2 separate regions of the Homo sapiens genome follow, and region 1 is linked to region 2. The links are contacts of gene promoters, found by promoter capture Hi-C in blood cells and fetal thymus (Javierre and others, 2016). All regions are on one chromosome and are shown on one strand. Each heading gives the region's core, a stretch centred on a gene start or on the middle of the fragment in contact. The rest is flanking DNA. Distances are from core to core; before and after follow the strand shown. Region 1 has its middle 3.5 kb from the start of DTNBP1. Region 2 holds the start of SIRT5 (sirtuin 5).

What was found. The method cuts DNA at HindIII sites, captures the fragments that hold promoters and counts their contacts. A CHiCAGO score of 5 or more calls a contact.
Region 1: a contact is called between a fragment that was not itself captured here and the fragment with the promoter of SIRT5 in region 2, in 1 of 17 cell types (fetal thymus). The highest score is 7.8, in fetal thymus.

What each region holds. Positions count from the first base shown.
Region 1 is chr6:15,664,081-15,668,953 of GRCh38, forward strand. No RefSeq gene overlaps it. Among named protein-coding and RNA genes, the nearest start is that of DTNBP1, 3.5 kb to the left of the region's middle. The HindIII fragment of the contact is 657 bases long and covers 923-1,579 here.
Region 2 is chr6:13,572,086-13,576,785 of GRCh38, forward strand. It overlaps SIRT5 (sirtuin 5), which reads left to right and starts at 2,516. Exons shown (of 10, transcript NM_012241.5): 1 at 2,516-2,659. It overlaps LOC105374937 (a long non-coding RNA gene), which reads right to left and starts at 2,349. Exons shown (of 2, transcript XR_926497.4): 1 at 1,880-2,349; 2 at 1-1,136. RefSeq lists a silencer at 2,069-2,588 and enhancers at 2,281-2,867, 2,799-3,278, 2,868-3,453. The HindIII fragment of the contact is 7,984 bases long and covers 1-4,700 here.

The DNA of each region.
Region 1 (4,873 bases), core at 1-2,500, 2.1 Mb after region 2:
CATTCCCCATATTAACCCATCAAATCCAATCAACTCTACTCCTGAAGTATTTCTGGAACCTCCTTCTCTTTCTATATCTTCACTATATTTATCCTGGTCGAAGGCACCATCCTCTTTCAATGGGAACACAGACAGTTCTTCCAGATTCTACTCTTTTGCCATACACACCCCTATAATCCATCCTTGACACAGCAGCCAGAAAGAGTTATTTAAAAGATCAATCGGATCACGTTGCTCCCCTGCTTAAAATCTTCCAATTGCCTCCTGGGCACTTGGAATAAAATTCAAACTACTTACCCCCTTAAAAAGCCCTAAAATTTGAATGTTTTCTAGCACTGTATCCAAATTGATTACTAGTCACCTATCATGTCCTTGACAATTAAGACATAATAGCCTTTTTTTTTTTTTTTTTTTTGGTGTGTTCTTAGAAAATTCCAGGTTTATTTCCACCTGTGGTGTTTTCACAAACTTTTCTCCAAACTGTCCCTTGTCTGGCTCCTTATAACATAAGGGTCACATCCTAAATAGCATCACATTAGATAGGTTTTACTTACCATTCAAGTTACACACCCAATCACTTCCTATCACGTAGCCTGTTTCTCAACTTAGTACACATTAGAAAATTTATTCAATAATTATTTGCTATTTATTAATTTAGTTGTTTACAAACATATTTTAAAACCACGACAAATAAGGCATTCACCTCAGGTACAAAATTTACGGGAGCCAAAAAGCTCAGTAATCAAGATAAGTAATATTTTAATACAATATTTAAAAAATTCAAAATTAATGAAAAAAAATCTGTGATGAACAAAATATCAAAATTTTAAATACACAGGATCTGTTAGGGCTGGGATTGGATGAGGCCAGTGAGGTAAGTAGCACAAGTACAGGCCCAGATGTAAACTGCTCTGTCTTATTAAGCTTTGCATCCCCAGCAATGAAAACAGTGAATGGCACATAACAGACACCCAGTAAATGTCTTGTTGCAGGAGTTAAATAAGATAAAGGACTTAGCTTGTAGCTGGGGGACCACCTCTTCCCCACTCTTGATGTTTTCTTCCATGGGAAGGGAGCTCTTCTGCTAACATAAAGAAGTACCCAGCCTCTCCTGGTGGGGAAGAGGTGACTACGATGATTAGTGAGCTAGAAGTAAGGAGCTTGGTCTCATCTTCTTTTCTTTTTGTTGAGTGAACACTTCCAACAAAGAGCATTCATTCTGCTGCCTAAAGACAGGCTTGAAGGGCAACCCAGTGCTTTTTGTGACTGGGTACTAGAAGTTCTGCTTGCCCATGAATATAAGCCATGTGTTCCATCAGTCTTCCTAGATATAAAAGTGATATTTTGGCCTCTTTATGCTGACACTATTGTTTTATTTCTCAGTTTGCTCAGACAAGTAAGAAAGAGGAGTGCTGTTTATTGAGCCTTCTTCTACCTCTCAGAAACAGTGCCTGGAACAAAGCAAGTGATCAAATGATCAAATCTACAGACAGGTCCCTTAGTATCTAGTAGATTTGAAAACCACAAGTACTGGGAAATATTAAATTTTTTTCTTTTATTCAATTAAACTCTACACATAAGCTTTCAATTTACTAAGTTTCATACATTCCAACAAAGCACCAAATCCACTCAAAAAAGACTCTTGCCTGTCACTAAAAAATAGCTTTACTGGTTGTGCCTGATCATTTCTGTCTTGACCAATGCACTGTTTATTAGTCTATGGCATGTTTGTATTTGAGGTGCTTTCTGAACATTCTTAATTCCATCATATCTATTAAATTAAAAAACAGTGAAAGTTTTAAAAGTGCTAATAAAAAGATAATTTATGATTTAAAGAAGTAAATATTAAAAAAATTAGAAAATAACTACTGTTGTACATGAGTTGCTCAGGAGGAATGATTAAGGACCAAGAGTTGAAGCATGTGACATGTCGTGTTTACATAAGTAACAGTAATCAGCCAGAAACTAGGAAGATGGATTGGCAAAATGAAAAAAAAAACAAAGCTTTTAAGTACAGTTTGAGAACCAACATCAGTATGGAAGCTATTGACCTAATCTTAATTCAGGAATTGGTTGAGAGTTGATTGTTGTTTGTTTGGGGTTTTTTTGTTTGTTTTGTTTTAAGACGGAGTCTCCCTCTGTCACCTAGGCTGGAGTGCAGTGGTGCAATCTTGGCTCACTGTAGCCTCCACCTCCTGGGTTCAAGTGATTCTCCTGCCTCAGCCTCCTGGGTAGCTGGGATTACAGGCTTCCGCCACCACGCCCAGCTAATTTTTGTATTTTTAGTAGAGACAAGGTTTCACTATGTTGGACAGGCTGGTCTCAAACTCCTGACCTCAAGTGATCCGCCTGCCTTGGCCTCCCAAAATGCTGGGATTACAGGCATGAGCCACCGCGCCCAGCAGAGAGTTGATTTTTTGAGAGCATATTAGTTGCGCCCAGGAAAAGCTTTGGTGATACAACGTTTGGGGTGAGCACCAAAGCTGCTAAGAAGTTTCCTGAAATAGTGCTTCCCTGACCAGCAGCAGCCGCATCATCTGGGAGCTTCCTGCAAAGGTAGAATCGTAGGCCCCAGCCAGCCCTACTGAATCAGAATCTGAGTTTTATTAAGACCCCCCGGGTGATTTTTATTCATGTTAACATTTGAGAAGCCCTACTCGTTGATGAAAGGGGGTTTCCTGTCTCAGCAGATTCTTATTGGAGACAAAGTGATAAATGAGGATTTGGCGGAGTTAGAACCAAAGAGAAAGATGCTATTAAAGAAGGGGTGGTACGAAAGAAACCACCATCAGAGCGAACAGGCAACCTACAGAATGGGAGAAAATTTTTGCAATCTACTCATCGGACAAAGGGCTAATATCCAGAATCTACAATGAACTCAAACAAATTTACAAGAAAAAAACAACCCCATCAACAAGTGGGCAAAGGATGTGAACAGACACTTCTCAAAAGAAGACATTTATGCAGCCAAAAGACACATGAAAAAATGCTCATCATCGCTGACCATCAGAGAAATGCAAATCAAAACCACAATGAGATACCATCTCACACCAGTTAGAATGGCGATCACTAAAAAGTCAGGAAACAACAGGTGCTGGAGAGAATGTGGAGAAATAGGAACACTTTTACACTGTTGGTGGGACTGTAAACTAGTTCAACCATTGTGGAAGTCAGTGTGGCGATTCCTCAGGGATCTAGAACTAGAAATACCATTTGACCCAGCCATCCCATTACTGGGTATATACCCAAAGGACTGTAAATCATGCTGCTATAAAGACACATGAACACATATGTTTATTGTGGCACTATTCGCAATAGCAAAGACTTGGAACCAACCCAAATGTCCAACAATGATAGACTGGATTAAGAAAACGTGGCACATATACACCATGGAATACTATGCAGTGAAAAAAATGATGAGTTCATGTCCTTTGTAGGGACATGGATGAAGCTGGAAACCATTATTCTCGGCAAACTATCGCAAGGACAAAAAACCAAACACCGCATGTTCTCACTCATTGGTGGGAATTGAACAGTGAGAACACATGGACACAGGAAGGGGAACATCATACACTGGGGCCTGTTGTGGGGTGGAGGGAGGCGGGAGGGATAGCATTAGGAGATATACCTAATGTTAAATGACGAGTTAATGGGTGCAGCACACCAACTTGGCACATGTACCCTAAAACTTAAAGTATAATAATAATAAAAAAAAAGCAGGAAAAAAAAGAAGGGGCTGTAGAACCCAGAAAAGTTCATACCATTTCATTGGCAGAGCTCTTTTAGAGTAATTGGAAAGGGACTATGGTTAATTGCTTTGCAGGAACCTGACTTAGATTTGTAAAGATATTTACAGTGTGTTGTTATTATTTGTGATGTTTTTAAAAAGCCAACATGTAAATATTTTTGATATCTTTAATTTTTAAGAGTTTAATGGTTACAGAAGAATCCATGTAAAAGCTGTAAATGTTTCTCGTGAAGCAATGAGTATTTTTAAGAATGAGGTAAGCTAGATAAAGCTGGAAAGGTGATATCAGCACAGCATTTTGAAAAGAAAAGCAGAGACAGAAATCAGGGAGGTGAAGGAGGAGAGTTCCAACCTCAGAGAGTAAAGATTAGAACGCAGCTGAAGAACAGGAGAGAAGGGGGTAGTTAGAGAATATCAAGGTCGGAAGACAGAAGCTATAATAATAGATCTAGACGGCAAGCACTGTCGGGAGTGACAGCAAGGTTGGAAATGAGTATTTTACCTGAGCTGAACGGAAAGAACAGTAAAAGGATCTCAGCTGCATCTATTTGTGTTCCAAAATTGTATCCCACTGTCATAAAATGACTGGGCACCTAACCTTATCTTTTTGCTCAGATGAAAAAAGAAGGCACTACACTGTTGCATTAAAGGAGGAAAACGTTTATTTTTTGTTAATATGTGTTTAGATCTATATAATCTATAAAGATACATTACAGGAGGAAAACTTTTATTTTTTGTTATTCTATGGTTGGATCTATATGGTCTATAAGATATCCATAAACGACCAAGTGACTCCATTCATCAAAGCGTAGGGACTCTACATGAGTAAAGGAAACCACGTCCTGTACTCTTACAAATAGATGGTTCCCCCAGAGAGAATACATCTCAGAAATCACATCTTCTGAACTACTGTGCCATAGAAATATATTTGTGTGGGAAAACTTAATAACAAACTGAAACTCTTTAATAAGAATTAGTGGCCAAAAAAAAAAAGTTTGAGACAATGATTACTTAGAGCTAACTATCAGGTCAATACATGCTGGTGGGGGAGCCGTAATAATTGATCATTAGTAGTTAAAATAATTGATGATTATAATTGCAGTTAAGTAATAGTTTTCAAGCCTG
Region 2 (4,700 bases), core at 1,266-3,765:
TTTAATCAAATACACAGAAATATATTTAAAATCTCAACTGGGATAAGTGCCATGGTGCTACAGGAGCTTATATTAGAGACAAGGGACCTCATGCAGTTGTGAGGGAGGAGGGTTTAAGAAGGCTCCCCCCGCCCCACCCCACCAAGGAACAATTGAATTGAGACTGGAAGGATGAGGGGAGTTACTGTGGAGGGGATAGGAAAAAGTCATCTGGGAAAAGAGAACGGCCTTTTAGAAGGGCAAGGCCATCGAGAAATTAAGCTGGAGTTGCCTGAAAGATGGAAAGGATAGTGGCTGATGTATCAAGATGAGGAAGTGGCTCGACATTGGTCAGGGAGAGGTGGCGTTTCCAAGTCTGGGAGAAGGGACGAGTTCCAGGGCTGGTATGTGGATGGCGGGTGCCTGGATCTTGATGGAATATAATGCCCCAGAAGTGGCAGAACCTGTGGGTGGTGAAGGCTACATATCGGGCCTGTGGACTGTGAAAGTTTGCAATAACTGGCACTGTCTCCCTCTTCTTCCAATTGAAAGGATTAACACACAATGGTCAATATGAAAGCACAAAAGAAATGGAATACACTTTAACGAGAATTGGTATGTGTAGCAGCTTGGAACCTTGTCTTTGAAGTCAAAGCACTTAGATTTAAATCCCAGCTCTACTGTTACTGGTAAATTGCGTTCTTTTCCTAGTCTGTATCAGTTGCAAAGAAAGCACACCAACTGGAAAAAACGGCAAGCGGGTTTCATTCCTGGCCAGGAATAGAGAAGGAGTAAACTTTCACTCTAAAGACCCCCTTCTTCCAGAGCTTTGGGAAGCTGGGGAATTGTAAGGCGTTAGATGTGGAGTGGGGAGGTATGCAAGCATATGCCGGGAGGAACTCTAGACGCACAGGTGCATTTCATAAACATGCCTCTTCATACAATGCACTATCAGAAAATGGCGGCGATTCTCTTCTACGGGTCGGGAGTTGAGCATATAATGATGTATTAATGATCTAAAAGTAACAAGGGGTGGCTGGTTCTGGTTTTCTCTGGTTCCTAGTAGGCCTTATCTTTCTCTGGTACTTGGCAAAGGGCAGTGAGGATCCCGGGCCAACCGCAGTTGTTTTAAGCTGGGTTACCTATAGATAAAGAGACTAGGAAAAAAAATCAAACAAACAAAACGGTTTAAAAAACAATGAGCATTTTCAGCTGTCTACTGTTTAAGAAAATAATGAGCTCTCAGTTTTGCCCTCTGAGCGATTTCTCCAGGACTGCCCTGGTAACACTACTACTCAACAGTTTTGTGCTTTGCGCAGTTACTTGACCTCCCTGGGCCTCGGTTTCCCCACCCATAAAGTGGGGATAACAGTACCTATTTCATCAGGTGGTGGGGACGATTTAAAATGGTTAATAATGTGCAGTTCTTAAAAGTGTCTGGCTCAGAATAAGCACCATACACGTTAGGGGGAAAAACAGCAGCCGGATGTGAGGCCCTCCCCAATTTCGTTACTCCATAAACCTCTGAGTTGCTGGTAACACCTGCAGGAATGAGAAGGGCCTCAACATGGGCTGAATTTCCAGCCAAACTGTGGGAAGTGGCTGAGATTTTAGGTAGGCAAAAAATGTTAATGTAACATTTTTGGCCCCCAAGTTCTCAGACCACTTACTTCCCTTTCTAGTCCACTGACATGCCCGCAAGCAATTCCATTCTGCCAAGTGGTGCTGGTGGCAAGCCGGAATCCAAGAAAAGGAAAGACTCCGATTTTAAGGGAACGGGGACATGCGGAGCCACGTGAGTCACTGGGTCCCAGAGCCACGGAAGGCTCTCAGCTCAGCAGTCAGAGTGCACTCGTCATTGCGTTCGAGGTTAGGTGGCCTAGCCTGGGAACCAACTCACCGTCATTTGAAATCGTTTTAGGGAAAATGACCCTAACATTTAAAATCCTCTCTCCTGAAGTTGTGTGGTCCAGCCGTTTGCTGAAGGAGGAAGCAAAGCCGGTAGTAACTCACTACATATTTGGGCAGTGGAATGAACCCTGGAAGCTGACAAAGTCGAAGCAAGTCACTGCGCCGCCCCCCACCCCCACCCCCACCCCAAATAAAAACAGAGAGACAATCCTTCAATTATAAAGAAGACCACGGCGCCCGGGTCTCCGGCAGGGGCCGCTGCAGCCGAGCAGAACGCTGAGCCGCTCCGCCCCACGGCCTCCTCTCCAGCCGGCGCGCCCGCCTCCCGCAGGTGCGTCTCTGCCTGCGCCGGGCCGGGGTCTCCGCGGCCTCTCCCGCTCGGGCTCCGGCTTCGAGGTCCCGACCAAGCACTGCTCTCGCGGGACTGCGCGCACCGCCCAGGGCCTGCCGCGGGCTCGCGAGCGGAGGTGGCACCGGTCCGCGGTGCGCATGCGCGGCCCGGCCTCTGCCCTGCGGTCCCGGGCTGGTGACTGGCTAGCGGTTGGAGGAAGGGATGTGGGGGATGGTGGGTGGGTACAGAGAGCTGGGAGGGAGGCACCCCGGGGGGCGGGGCGTGGGAGACTGTATTCGGGGGCGCGAGCTGCCCCAGGTGAGCCGTGGCTCAGGTCCGGAGCGCGGTCGGGACACAGCGCCTCTAGGAGAAAGCCTGGAAGGCGCTCCGGGGGTACCCAGAGCTCTTAGCGGGCCGGCAGCATGTGCGGGGCCCAAGGTCTTCCGGGCTCTGCGTGGGGGTCGCTGCGGCTGGAGACCAGGGAGGGGGATGGAAACGGGGTTGGAAAGTAATCCCACCCGAGCAGGTGGGCATGGGAGGCCGCTGTGCTGGGGAGCCCCGCGAGGGCTCCGAACAGAGCCTCCCTTTTCAGAAAGGTCACCCTGGTCATTGCAGCTGCCAGGGTGACCGAGGAAGGTGGCCGGGGTGGAGGCAGTGGGCGTGGAGAGGGGTCGGATTCCGGACGTAGTTTGAAGGTGGAGCCGTCAGGTTCTGCTGAGCAGCTTGGCTATGGGGCGTGCGAGAAGGGAAGGCTCAGGGCCTAGTCCCTGGGCACGAGTAGTAGCCGGGAGGATGAAGTCCCAGTGCTTCGGGGGGAGGCGGCTTGAGGACGGCTCTGGAGCTCAGGCTTGCCCGCGTGGAGTGGAAGCTGCCTCTTGGACACAGGGCGGGGAGGCCGCATGCAGTCTGGCGCGCTGGGAGGATGGGAGATCCAGAGGGGCAGGGCTGGAGGGGTAGGAGGAAAACCTGAAGAGGGTGGCGCCCGGAAGCCCGGGAAAGTGATGAACTGGGTCAGAGGCCGGGTATCAACAAATAGGAGGGTGGAGACGACCTTGAGGAAAGCAGGTGATGGAACGGGAGGGAATGGGGCCCCCTAGTGGAGACACCTGGGAGTGATGTATTGCATTTATTTAGCTCTTAGGCGTTCAAAAATTATTTATTGGGAGCCTGTACAACTTTTTGCAGTTCATTGCATTATCCTTAGCATGTATTTTGTTTTATATAAATATATATTTATATAATTATTTTTATTGACAAATTTATATATTTATAGCGTACAGTGTAATGTTTTGATATATGTATACATTGTAGAAAGATTAAATCAAGCTAATTGACATATCCATCACCTCACCTACTTATTTTTTGTGGTGAAAATCTACTCTCCTGGAAATATACAATACATCATCAACTATGGTCACCATGCTGTGCAGTAGATCACTAAAACTTACTCCTCTTACCTAACTAAAACTTTGTATCCTTTGACCAACATCCCTCCCTTCCACATCAGCCCTCTGCCAGGCCCCTGGTAACCATCATTCTACTCTGCTTCTATGAGTTCAACTTTTTTAGACCCCAAGTATATAAGTAAGATCATGTGCTGTTTGTCCTTCTGTGCCTGGCTTATTTTACTTGGCCTCATGTCCTCCAGGTTCATCCATGTTGTTGCAAATGACAGAATTGCCTTCTGTTTTAAGACTGTATAGTATTCCATTGTATATATGTGCCACATTTTCTTTATCCGGTCCTCAGTTGATGGATACTTAGTTGCTTCTATATCTTGGTTATTGTGAATAATGCTGAAAACAACACAGGAATGCAGCTATCTCTTCAACATACTGATTTCAATTCCTTTGTATATATACCCAGAAGTAGGATTTCTGGGTCATGTGGTAATTCTATTTTTAGATTTTGAGGAGCCTCCATACTGTTTTCCAAAATGGCTGTACTAATTTACATTCCACCAACAGTGTACCAGGGTTCCCTTTTCTCCACATTCTGGACAAAACTTGTTGTCTTTGATCTTTTTTATAATAGCCATTCTAACAAGCGTGAGGTGGTAGCTCAGTGTGATTTAATTTGCATTTCCCTGGTGGTTAGCAAAGTTGAGCGTTTTTCATGTATTTGTTGACCATTCATATGTCTTCTTTTGAGGAATACCTGTTCAGGTTCTTTGTCCATTTTTTAACCGGGTTATTCGTTTTGTTTTGTTTTGCTGTTGAGTTTTTTGAGTTTCTTATATATTTTAGATAAGAGCCCCTTATCAGATGCATGGTTTGCAAATATTTTCTCCCAGTCTGTGGGTTGTCTCTTTACTCTGTTAATTATTTTCTTTGCTGTGCAGAGGCTTTTTAGTTTGATGCAATCCCATGTGTCTATTTTTGCTTTTGTTGCTTTTGGGGTCCTATCCAAGAAATCATTGCCCAGACTAATATGGAGTTTTCACCTATGTTATCTTCTATTAGTTTTACAGTTTCAGGTG